Regions from separate parts of the Homo sapiens genome. Here regions 2 and 3 are each linked to region 1. The links are contacts of gene promoters, found by promoter capture Hi-C in human tissues and cell types (Jung and others, 2019). All regions are on one chromosome and are shown on one strand. The core of a region is centred on a gene start or on the middle of the fragment in contact, and the rest is flanking DNA. Distances in the headings are between cores, read along the strand shown.

Evidence for each region. Contacts are between HindIII fragments. The study calls those that stand out against the background at their distance.
Region 2: a fragment that was not itself captured here is called in contact with the fragment with the promoter of DDI2 in region 1 in 1 of the 25 tissues and cell types used here (dorsolateral prefrontal cortex).
Region 3: a contact is called between a fragment that was not itself captured here and the fragment with the promoter of DDI2 in region 1, in 2 of the 25 tissues and cell types used here (aorta and dorsolateral prefrontal cortex).

The regions. Positions count from the first base shown.
Region 1 is chr1:15,615,922-15,618,991 of GRCh38, forward strand. DDI2 (DDI proteasomal shuttling factor 2) reads left to right here and starts at 1,537. Exons shown (of 10, transcript NM_032341.5): 1 at 1,537-1,887. The coding sequence starts at 1,750. RefSeq lists a silencer at 1,291-1,860. The HindIII fragment of the contact is 8,472 bases long and covers 1-3,070 here.
Region 2 is chr1:15,939,963-15,943,032 of GRCh38, forward strand. It overlaps SPEN (spen family transcriptional repressor), which reads left to right. Exons shown (of 15, transcript NM_015001.3): 15 at 1-494. ZBTB17 (zinc finger and BTB domain containing 17) reads right to left here. Exons shown (of 16, transcript NM_003443.3): 14 at 2,567-2,776; 15 at 2,369-2,458; 16 at 1,907-2,290. The coding sequence ends at 2,007. Among named protein-coding and RNA genes, the nearest start is that of ZBTB17, 35 kb to the right of the region's middle. RefSeq lists an enhancer at 2,162-3,070. The HindIII fragment of the contact is 9,342 bases long and covers 1-3,070 here.
Region 3 is chr1:15,896,565-15,899,634 of GRCh38, forward strand. All of the region lies in intron 3 of SPEN (spen family transcriptional repressor), which reads left to right. Among named protein-coding and RNA genes, the nearest start is that of SPEN-AS1, 50 kb to the left of the region's middle. The HindIII fragment of the contact is 7,337 bases long and covers 1-3,070 here.

The DNA.
Region 1 (3,070 bases), core at 287-2,786:
CAATTACAAAAGTATTGGCCCTGATTTCAGTGAGCCACTCAACCAGTGCTGTTGCTACCTCCAGGCCTTCTCTCCTGTGAGAAAACAAACCCTTGTTTGTTTAAGCCACTGATAGTCAAGCTTTCTGTTGCTCCTAGGGGATATAAGCATTCTCACTCCCCTGTGCCTCTACTTTCTCTTTTTTTTTTTTTTTTTTGAGACAGAGTCTCGCTCTGTCTCCCAGGCTAGAGTGCAGTGACCTGATCTCGGCTCACTACAACCTCCGCCTCCCGCGTTCAAGTGACCCTCCTGCCTCAGCCTCCCGAGTAGCTGGGACTATAGGTGTCCGCCACCATGCCCGGCTAATTTTTGTATTTTTAGTAGAGACGGGGTTTCACCATATTGGCCAAGCTGGTCTCGAACTCCTGACCTTGTGATCCGCCCGCCTTGGCCTCCCAAAGTGCTGGGATTACAGGCGTGAGCCACCGCGCCCAGCTCCTCTAATTTCTCTTTGTAAAAGCCTTCAGCTGCTAATTCTCCCTTTCCTGCCACCAACAGCCTACTTACTACCTACTTACCTGCACCCACAGCCATCTTATTTGCTCCTTCTCTCCTGTTAAAATGGAAAAGGGCTCCCTACCATGGAGGGGGAGTGGGAGTAAATGGAAAGATGCTAATCTGGCATCCATTACAAGTTCATCTTTCAGTTTTGGTTTTCTTACTCATCCGCACCTTAGTTCTGGGCCTCTACCACTCATCAGCTGTGTGCCTTAAAAACAGGCCATTAAAGTAGCAAATATTTATTGAGTAGATTCTAAGCTGTGCCCAAAAAGGCACTGCGCTAGGTGGTAGGAGTTGCTAGGGCTAGGAAACAGACACAGTCCAAGTAGAGAGAAAATTATTTACAAGACAGGGGAATGGAGCCTTGGAGGAACTGACCTATGTGGCTGGGAGGGCAGAGAATGTGGGAAGAGCTCGGAAGAAGGGGCTGGGGAGGTAGGCGTGGGCCACAGCCAACTGGCTTCTGTAGACTAGGGAGGGTAATGATTTTGGTTTCAATCCTAAATCACTAAGACAGGAAGTGAATTACTCTGTCGGAGCCTCAATTTCTACCTCGAAAAATATGTTTTATTACTAACTCCTGTACTAGATTGAGAGTTACGGAGAAGGATTTATCCTTTTATTCATTTCTGCATCGCCAGCGCCCGACACATGGTAGGCGCTTAATCAATGCCTGTTCGGTGAATAAATAAGACCGGGGACTCCTCCACAGACTTCTGTCATTAAGTCAACCAGTCAGCAGAGATTTCCTTCTCCGCGTTCCTTTCCTTCCCTCCCCTTTTCTTGCCCTTCCTCCCTCTCCTCTTCCACGCCCCCTTCCCACTCCTCCCCCTCCTATCCTCTCCTGGCTTCCTCCTCCTCTTCCCGGCCCCGCCCCCCGCTGCGTTGCGAAGGCGGGGAAGGCGAGGCGGGCTTTACGGCAGCCGCGTTGCGGCGGGGCGGGGCGCCGGGCGGCCGGCGCGCTTGGCGGCAGCCGTGGGAGGCAGGCCGGCAGGCAGACGGACTCGCAGGCGTGTGGCGGCGGCCGTGCTTGCTAGTGAGGGCGGGAGGGAGTGACTCACTGAGCGTGTGTGAGGGAGGGAGCGAGCGAGCGAACGAGCAGCCGGCGCCGTCCTCCCGCAGCACCAGCCAGGCCACGCCGCCGCCTCTTCCCCTGCGCCCCGCGCCCAGGCCGGGCCGAGCCGAGCCGAGCCGGGTCGGGCCCGGGCCATGCTGCTCACCGTGTACTGTGTGCGGAGGGACCTCTCCGAGGTGACCTTTTCCCTCCAGGTCGACGCCGACTTCGAGCTGCACAACTTCCGCGCGCTGTGCGAGCTCGAGTCTGGCATCCCCGCAGCCGAGAGCCAGGTACGCCGGGCAGCGAGCCGGGCCTGCCCCGGAGCTAAGCCCTCCCCGCCTCGGGGCCTCACTCCCTCCCTTTGCTACTGGTGAAGAATTGGGGGCTGGGGGGAGCAAGGATAGCCATTCTCAGGTCACCCCCGCATCCGGAAAGGAGCTGGGGAGCTGGCATCAGTAGCTGCCCTCACACACTCCGAGCATGGGGTGGGGTACGAGGAGAGGGAGCGGAGAACCTGACCGCAGACGCACCCACTGCAGCGTGAGGGGCGCGTGGACTGTTGAGCAGCGCTAACCCTCCCCACCTTTGGCTCTTTGGCCCTTCCCTGTTTCTAATCCCGAGTGTAGGATATCGTTGTGGACCTCAGAAGCAGCCCTGGGTTTGCTAGGATTCATACATCCTGCAAACCAGAAATACCAGTTTGGATCACTGTGGTAGATAGATGTTCCTCTGCTTTTTTTTTTTTTTTTTTCTGGAGAGGGTTTCTGCTTAAATATACGCAGTTTACCTTTAAATGCACAGATTTGCACTTCCGGTGAAAGAAAAAGTTTAAGACTTGCACTACCTCATTTTGGGGTCTTTGGAAATGCTCTTTACCCACCACATGCGTTTCTGGTTAAATTCTTTTGAAAAACAGTACCTATTGGTTCAACTCAAGCTGTTTGTTTGTTTCGGTTCTACCCTGGTAGTAAGCCAGAAGGCCCTTTTTCTTTCAGGTCACAGTTCAGAGTTTGGGTCAGTTCAAAGCTCAATGCTTTAAAAGGATATTTGCTTGGAAACGGCCTAGTATCAGTGCTGTTTGGTGGTTTCATTTCCCTACTCAGCTTGCTGGAAAGAAGTTCAGCCTCTCATATTTTAACTAAGCAAAGTAATTCTCAAAATGCTTTGGGGCTGCCCCTAGTCTTTATCAAACAGAATCGGTGACACTAACGCTGTAAACTTTACACTAAAACACTTAGATCATGACTTAATAAATTTAGCCTGGAGGAAATAGTCTAAACATTAAGAAAATTATAGAGGTCTCCCAAGTCTCCATCAAGTAAATCTTGATTTTCTACTGCAGTTATGAAATAGTTTACAAAACGATTGCCCAACTGCAGCTTGTTCTGCTGTCTTATGGTAAACACGTGTCAATACTTTGTTCAGAAGTATGATTCCTTTACACAATGTGAACTTTAGAACCTTGGCATAAAG
Region 2 (3,070 bases), core at 300-2,799, 320 kb after region 1:
CATTTGGATGCGTCACCTTAATTCTCCTGCTGCCACCGTCTTTGATTCACCGGGATGTACAGTTTACAGTTGAAGAGCAAACAGAAAGGTTTTCTCTTGGTGGGATATGCAGAACTTGGGATGTGTGTATATATAAATATATAATATATATAAATATATATAATACTGACTTAAAAAATCAAATCCCCCGACATACGTTTTTTTTAATCTGTGCCAAAAATGTGTTTTCAGAGGAAATCTTATTTTCATATTCAGACTTTGTATTGCCCACTCATTTGTATAAGTGCGCTTCGGTACAGCACGGGTCCTGCTCCCGCGATGTGGAAGTGTCACACGGCACCTGTACAAAAAGACTGGCTAACCCCTCTTCCTATTACCTTGATCTCTTCCCCCAACTTCCTAACACTTATTAATTTATGAAACTGTTTTTCTCAGCGCAGTTTTGTTTTGTGTGTCCATTGGATTACAAACTTTATTAAAAAATATAAAACACACCAAGTGTGAGTGTGATTGTCACTTGGGTGGGAGGACGAACCATGGGTCCTTGGCTTATGGGAACAGTCAGCCCTCATCCCGCTTTTGATCCCCATGCCAAGTCTGTACATGGGAACTGTTTCCCTTCTGCCTCCTAGTCAGTCAGTCCTCCTCCCCAAGGATAATTTTATCTTGTACAAAGGAGATTTTTGTCACGGACACTGAACTTAACCATTTCTCACTCTTGTGGTGTCTTCAGAGTCCTAACTGGTTCTTAGGTAATGTGGAAGGAAGGCACTTCCAATTTTGATACAGAATATAACCACACCCCATGCCATCTCAGAAACATTTTAGCAAGCTTTGGTTTCTTGTCTCTCTCTTGCCCCCTCTTCCCTTCTCCCAGTGTGAAGCAGGCTGACTCCTGCAGAGGCAGTGGCCTCCTGGGGCCCCTGGGGGCTCATTTGATCCCGTCTCTGCCTCCAGACAGGAGAATGGGAGTTGGGGACAGGCTTCCCCTGCAGCTGGATTCTCTAGAAGCTGTGGAGTTGGGACAGGGACATGGGGACTATAAAGTTGGTGGTCTCACTTGGAATACCAATGGGCTCCTACAAATGGGCCTGTCCTGGTGTGAGAAGATAGCATCCCCCTCTGAACGGTGGGCCATAGATGCCGGGGCCACTGTGGGGGGACGAGATGGTACCTCCTGACTCCTTGCTGACAGGAGTGAGAAAGCTGTTCCACCAGCTCCCTACCTCCCCATCAAAGCCCCTGGCTGCTCCTTCCTGTCCCTCTGGGCCCCCAGCCTGGTGGCAGAGATGCCATCTTTTGAACCTTCCCAAAAGATGATGGCACCGGCTTGGCCTTAGTCCTCGGGCCAGGTAACCCTGAAGCAAGTGTGGCTTCCATCTGCTCCCTTAGGCCCATCAGAGCCAGGGCAGTGGCCTGGGCCTGGCACTCTCCTTGGCCTACCTTGCCACTCTGGCTGGAAGGACCCCTGAGCCAGGCCTGGCAGCAGTGGCCTGTGAGCCAGGCTCGCTCTGGGTTGCCTGTACCCTGGTAAGCAGTTGGTGGCCGCCCCTGCTGGTCCCTTCCCCAACTTCCCAACCTCTCCCCAACCTGGGCCGAGGGGGAGCAGGGTCATAGCTGTGGGGCGAGGGGAGGCCAGGCCCTAAAGATGAACAGGTGAGAAGCCTCCAAACAAGATGGGATGAGGGCATGGGGCACGTGGTGCCGAGGTCTCTCCAGCCTGAGTGTACTGCCCACTCCTCAACTTGGGGCAAAGCAGCCAGCCTGGCTCTGATTCTAGTCGCATTCAGCAAGAGGGACGGGCTGACCTTCCCAGGAAGGCTGGTTCCTGGGTGGTACAGCCTTTCTGTGGCATCAGTTGTAGCTGCCAGCTCCCCACCCACCCCACAGGGACCTATAGGCAGCATTAGAAAATAATCCAATTTATTCTCTCTAGGGAACAGGCCACCCTTCCCGGTTCCAGGGTGCCATCCATCCTTAAATAAACAGTCAGAAGGGCCGCCAGCTCACTCGGCAGGCGGGGGACATTCAGGAGCTGTAGGGGAGGTCTCTGCCAGTGCGGGCTGGCCCTCAGCCCCGTCGCGAGGGCGGAAGACCAGCTCCCCAGCCTGCAGCACCTGCCCGGCAGGCCACGTGCCACCTGGCCCATACTGCTGATAGAAGTCCGCGTCTGTCTGGAACATGACCAGTGCCTGGGCTGTGTGGATTCGCACATGCTGAGCCAGGCTGTTGGCATCCAGAAACTTGTCCCCACAGGAGTCACAGGCGTAGAGGATGTGAGTGTTGGGGTCTGTGGAGGTGGGGCAGCAGTCAGAGTGGGAAGGACCCCGGGCTCTGCCCACATTCACACCCGGGTGGCCCCCCTCACCTTCTTCCTGCACTTGCTTCACAGCTTTGCTGATCTCGGCCTTCAGGACTTCCGTCTCATCGGCTGTCACTGCAGCTCCCACCGGCACCACTGCGGGCAGAGTCGCAGGGCCTAAGGTGAAGGCACGGGCACTGCCCCATCATCGCCACCCTGGCAGCAAGCTGCCTGTGACTTCCCTCTGCTGCCCACAGCCCGCACCTGTGAGCTGAGTGACGGCTGTCGCTGCCAGTGCCTCGGTAGCCAGCGTGACCATGTCATCCACAGTGACCACGCTGACCTCACTGCCCTCCTCGGGCTCCAGGATCTTGATGCCTGCCTTGCCCTGGTGCACGGTCTTCACGTGGGAGCGCAGGTTGTCTACCCGGTTGAAGCCACGCCCACACTTATCACACAGGTAAGGCTTCTCTCCTGGGGGAGCAAGGTTCTCTCTTGCCTTTGTGGGAAGGGGCCGCAGGGATGGGGTGGGAGGCCCTCAATGACTCGTTTGCCCAGCAACCCTGTCTTTTACAGCAGGAGGTGCTCTGGGGTGGCTGCACGGGTGCCTCTGGTGACACTGGCACCTCTGGAAGCTCTAGGAAAATGGGGTCCTCATTTGAACAGAACTGCCTTCAAGGCCACCTGCAGCAAGAGCTAGCACCCGAGGCTGGGGTCTGGGGGGTCCCTTCCTTCCCCCTGCTCCCCACCTGGCAGCAGGGCCTGGGA
Region 3 (3,070 bases), core at 253-2,752, 280 kb after region 1:
ATTACTTAAGTGGAGCCAGTACCTGCCTAAGGTTTAGATTTGTTTGATGTTTATAAATATTCAGAGGTGAAGTCTAGATGGATAGTAGGAGAGCTTTAAGAAGTTAATTTCTGAGGTCCAGATTTTGTACTAAGTAATCTTTAGGAAGTGTTATTAGTTGTTTATATCAGCAATAAAGGGTCATTGTAATCAGAGGAAAAATTACTAGCTTGGGCAACATAGTGAGATCCTGTCTCTACAAGTAATTTTAAGTGTTAGCCTGGTGTGGTGGCGCATGCCTGTTGTCCTAGCTACTTAGGAGGCTGAGGTGGGAGGATTGCTTGAGCCCAGGAGGTTGAGGCTGCAGTGAGCCATGAGTGCACCTCTGCACTCCAGCCTGGATGACAGAGCGAGACCTTGTCGTGAAAGAAAAGAAACATTAGTGTTGGTGGTTGGTTATGGTTCTCTTTCCACCTCCAGCTTTGTCTAGTAAGAGAAAGCTTTCTTCCTTTGTCAGTTTCACTCTACTAATTCAGTTAATCATTATCATATCAGCTCTTTTCCCGTTAGAAATCTTTGTAGTTTCTGATGACCGGAGAAATCTGATAGACCAAACAAAGTTGAAATTAAAATATTGGTTACATAATAAAAACTTTGTTTTTTGGAGATGGAGTCTCGCTTTGTCGCCCAGGCTGGAGTGCAGTGGTTCAATCTCGGCTCACTGCAACCTCCACTTCTGGGTTCAAGCGATTCTCCTGTCTCAGCCACCCGAGTAGCTGGGACTACAGGCGTACGCCATCATGCCTGGCTAATTTTTCTTTCTTTTTTTTTTTTTTGAGACGGAGTTTCGCTCTTGTTGCCCAGGGTGGAGTGCAGTGGCGTAGTCTCGGCTAACCGCAACCTCCGCCTTCTGGGTTCAAGCGATTCTCCTGCTTGTAATCCTGAGTAGCTGGGATTATAGGCACCAGCCACCACACCCAGCTAATATTGTATTTTTAGTAGAGGCGGAGTTTCTCCAAGTTGGTCAGGCTGGTCTTCAAACTTCCAACCTCAGGTGATCCCCCCGCCTCGGCCTCTCAAAGTGCTGGGATTACAGGCGTGGGCCACCACGCCTGGCCTAATTTTTGTATTTTTTAGTAGAGATGGAGTTTCACCATATTGGTCAGGATGGTCTCAAACTCCTGACCTTAGGTGATCCACCTGCCTCGGCCTCCCAAAGTGCTGGGATTACAGGCTTGAGCCACTGCACCTGGCCGCATTTTTGCTTTTTAATGTATCAACACAGCATTTTCTTAATACTATCCTAAATTTAAAGAGTTTAGATCGCTTTTCAATAACTTTGGCTCTAAAGGGCTTCATTGATGATTTATACAGTTGAGTCCTGCAATGCTTTCCCCGTTTCTTTTGTAATAGTTGCACAGTCACCAGTTAGGTCTGACTCATTGCCCTGATGTCATCTCTGAGGAAGTTTACCTGGGAAAGACAGGCTGTGAGACCCCTTGATTGAGCAGAGCATTGTGGGCAAAAAGCAGCAGGTAGCTTACTTTGACTGGTTTGGAATCGCTTATCTTTTTCTAAGGAACAAAGGAGAGTGACCACTAACTTTGTATTTTACTTCTTAATTTATCTTTGTGTGTGTGTGTGTGTGTGTGTGTGTGTGTGTGTGTAAAATAAAATTTACCATTTTAACGACTTTTAAGTGTTCAGTTCAGTGGCACTTAAATACATTGACATTATTTTGCAACCATCACCACCATCTATCTCCAGAACTTTTTCATCTTCCTCAACTGAAACTCTATACCCATTAAATAATAACTCCCAATTCTCCCTTTCCCCCAGCCCCTGGCAACCACCATTCTACTTTCTGCCTTTATGAAGTTGACTACTCCAGGTACCTCCTATAAATGGAATCATACAATCTTTTTTGGGTATGGCTGGTTTATTTCATTTAGCATAATATCTTCAAGGTTCATTCATGATGTAGCATTTGTCAAAATTTTTTTTTTCTTTTTTTCTTTTTTTTTTTTTTTGTTTGAGACAGAGTCTCACTCTGTTGCCCAGGCTAGAGTGCAGTGTCTCAGTCTTGGCTCACTGCAACCTCCACCTCCCAGGCTCAAGCGATTCTCCTGCCTCAGCCTCCCGAGTAGCTGGGATTACAGGCATGTGCAACTACCGCCTGGCTAATTTTTTTGTGTTTTTAGTAGAGATGGGGTTTCACCATGTTGGCCACGCTGGTCTTGAATTCCTGATCTCAGGTGATCCGTCCACCTTGGCTTCCCAAAGTGCTGGGGTTACAGGCGTGAGCCACTGCACCCAGCCAAAATTTCCTTTCTTTAAAAGGCTGAATAATATTCTATTTTGTGTGTATACCATATTTTGTTGACTCACTCATCTGTCGATAGACACTTGGGTTGCTTCCACCTTTTGGGTGTTGAACATGCTATGAATGTGAGTGTACAAATATCTAGTTGAGTTCCCGTCTTCATTTCTCTTGGGTATATAACCATAGTGGAATCGCTGGTTCAGTGGTAAGTTAGCGTTTGGGGAACCCCATGGCTGTACCATTTTACTTTCCCGTCAGTAATGCACAAGGGTTCCAATTTCTTCACATCCTTGCATTTGTTATTTTGTTTGCTTGTTTTTTTGAGACAGGATCTCACTTTGTCATCTAGGCTGCAGTGTAGTGGTGCGATTTTGGCCCACTGCAACCTTGACTTCCCAGGTTCAAGCCATCTTCCTGACTCAGCACCCCCGCCAAGTAGCTGGGACTACAGGCACATACCACCATGCCTGGCTAATCGTTTTTGGTAATTTTTTGTAGAGACGGGGTTTCGCCATGTTGGCCAGGCTGGTCTTGAACTCCTGAGCTCAAGTGATCTGCCTGCCTCGCCCTTCCAAAGTGCTAGGATTACAGGCGTGAGCCACTGCGCTCGGCAGTTTGTTTTTAATAATAGCCATCCTAGTGGGTGTGAAGTGATGTATCATGTGGCAGAGTTTTTTTTTTTTTTTTTTTTTTTTTTAAGATCCTGTGTTGTTTATGCTGAACTCGAACTCCTGGGCTCATGCTGTCCTTCTGCCTCAGGCTCCCAAG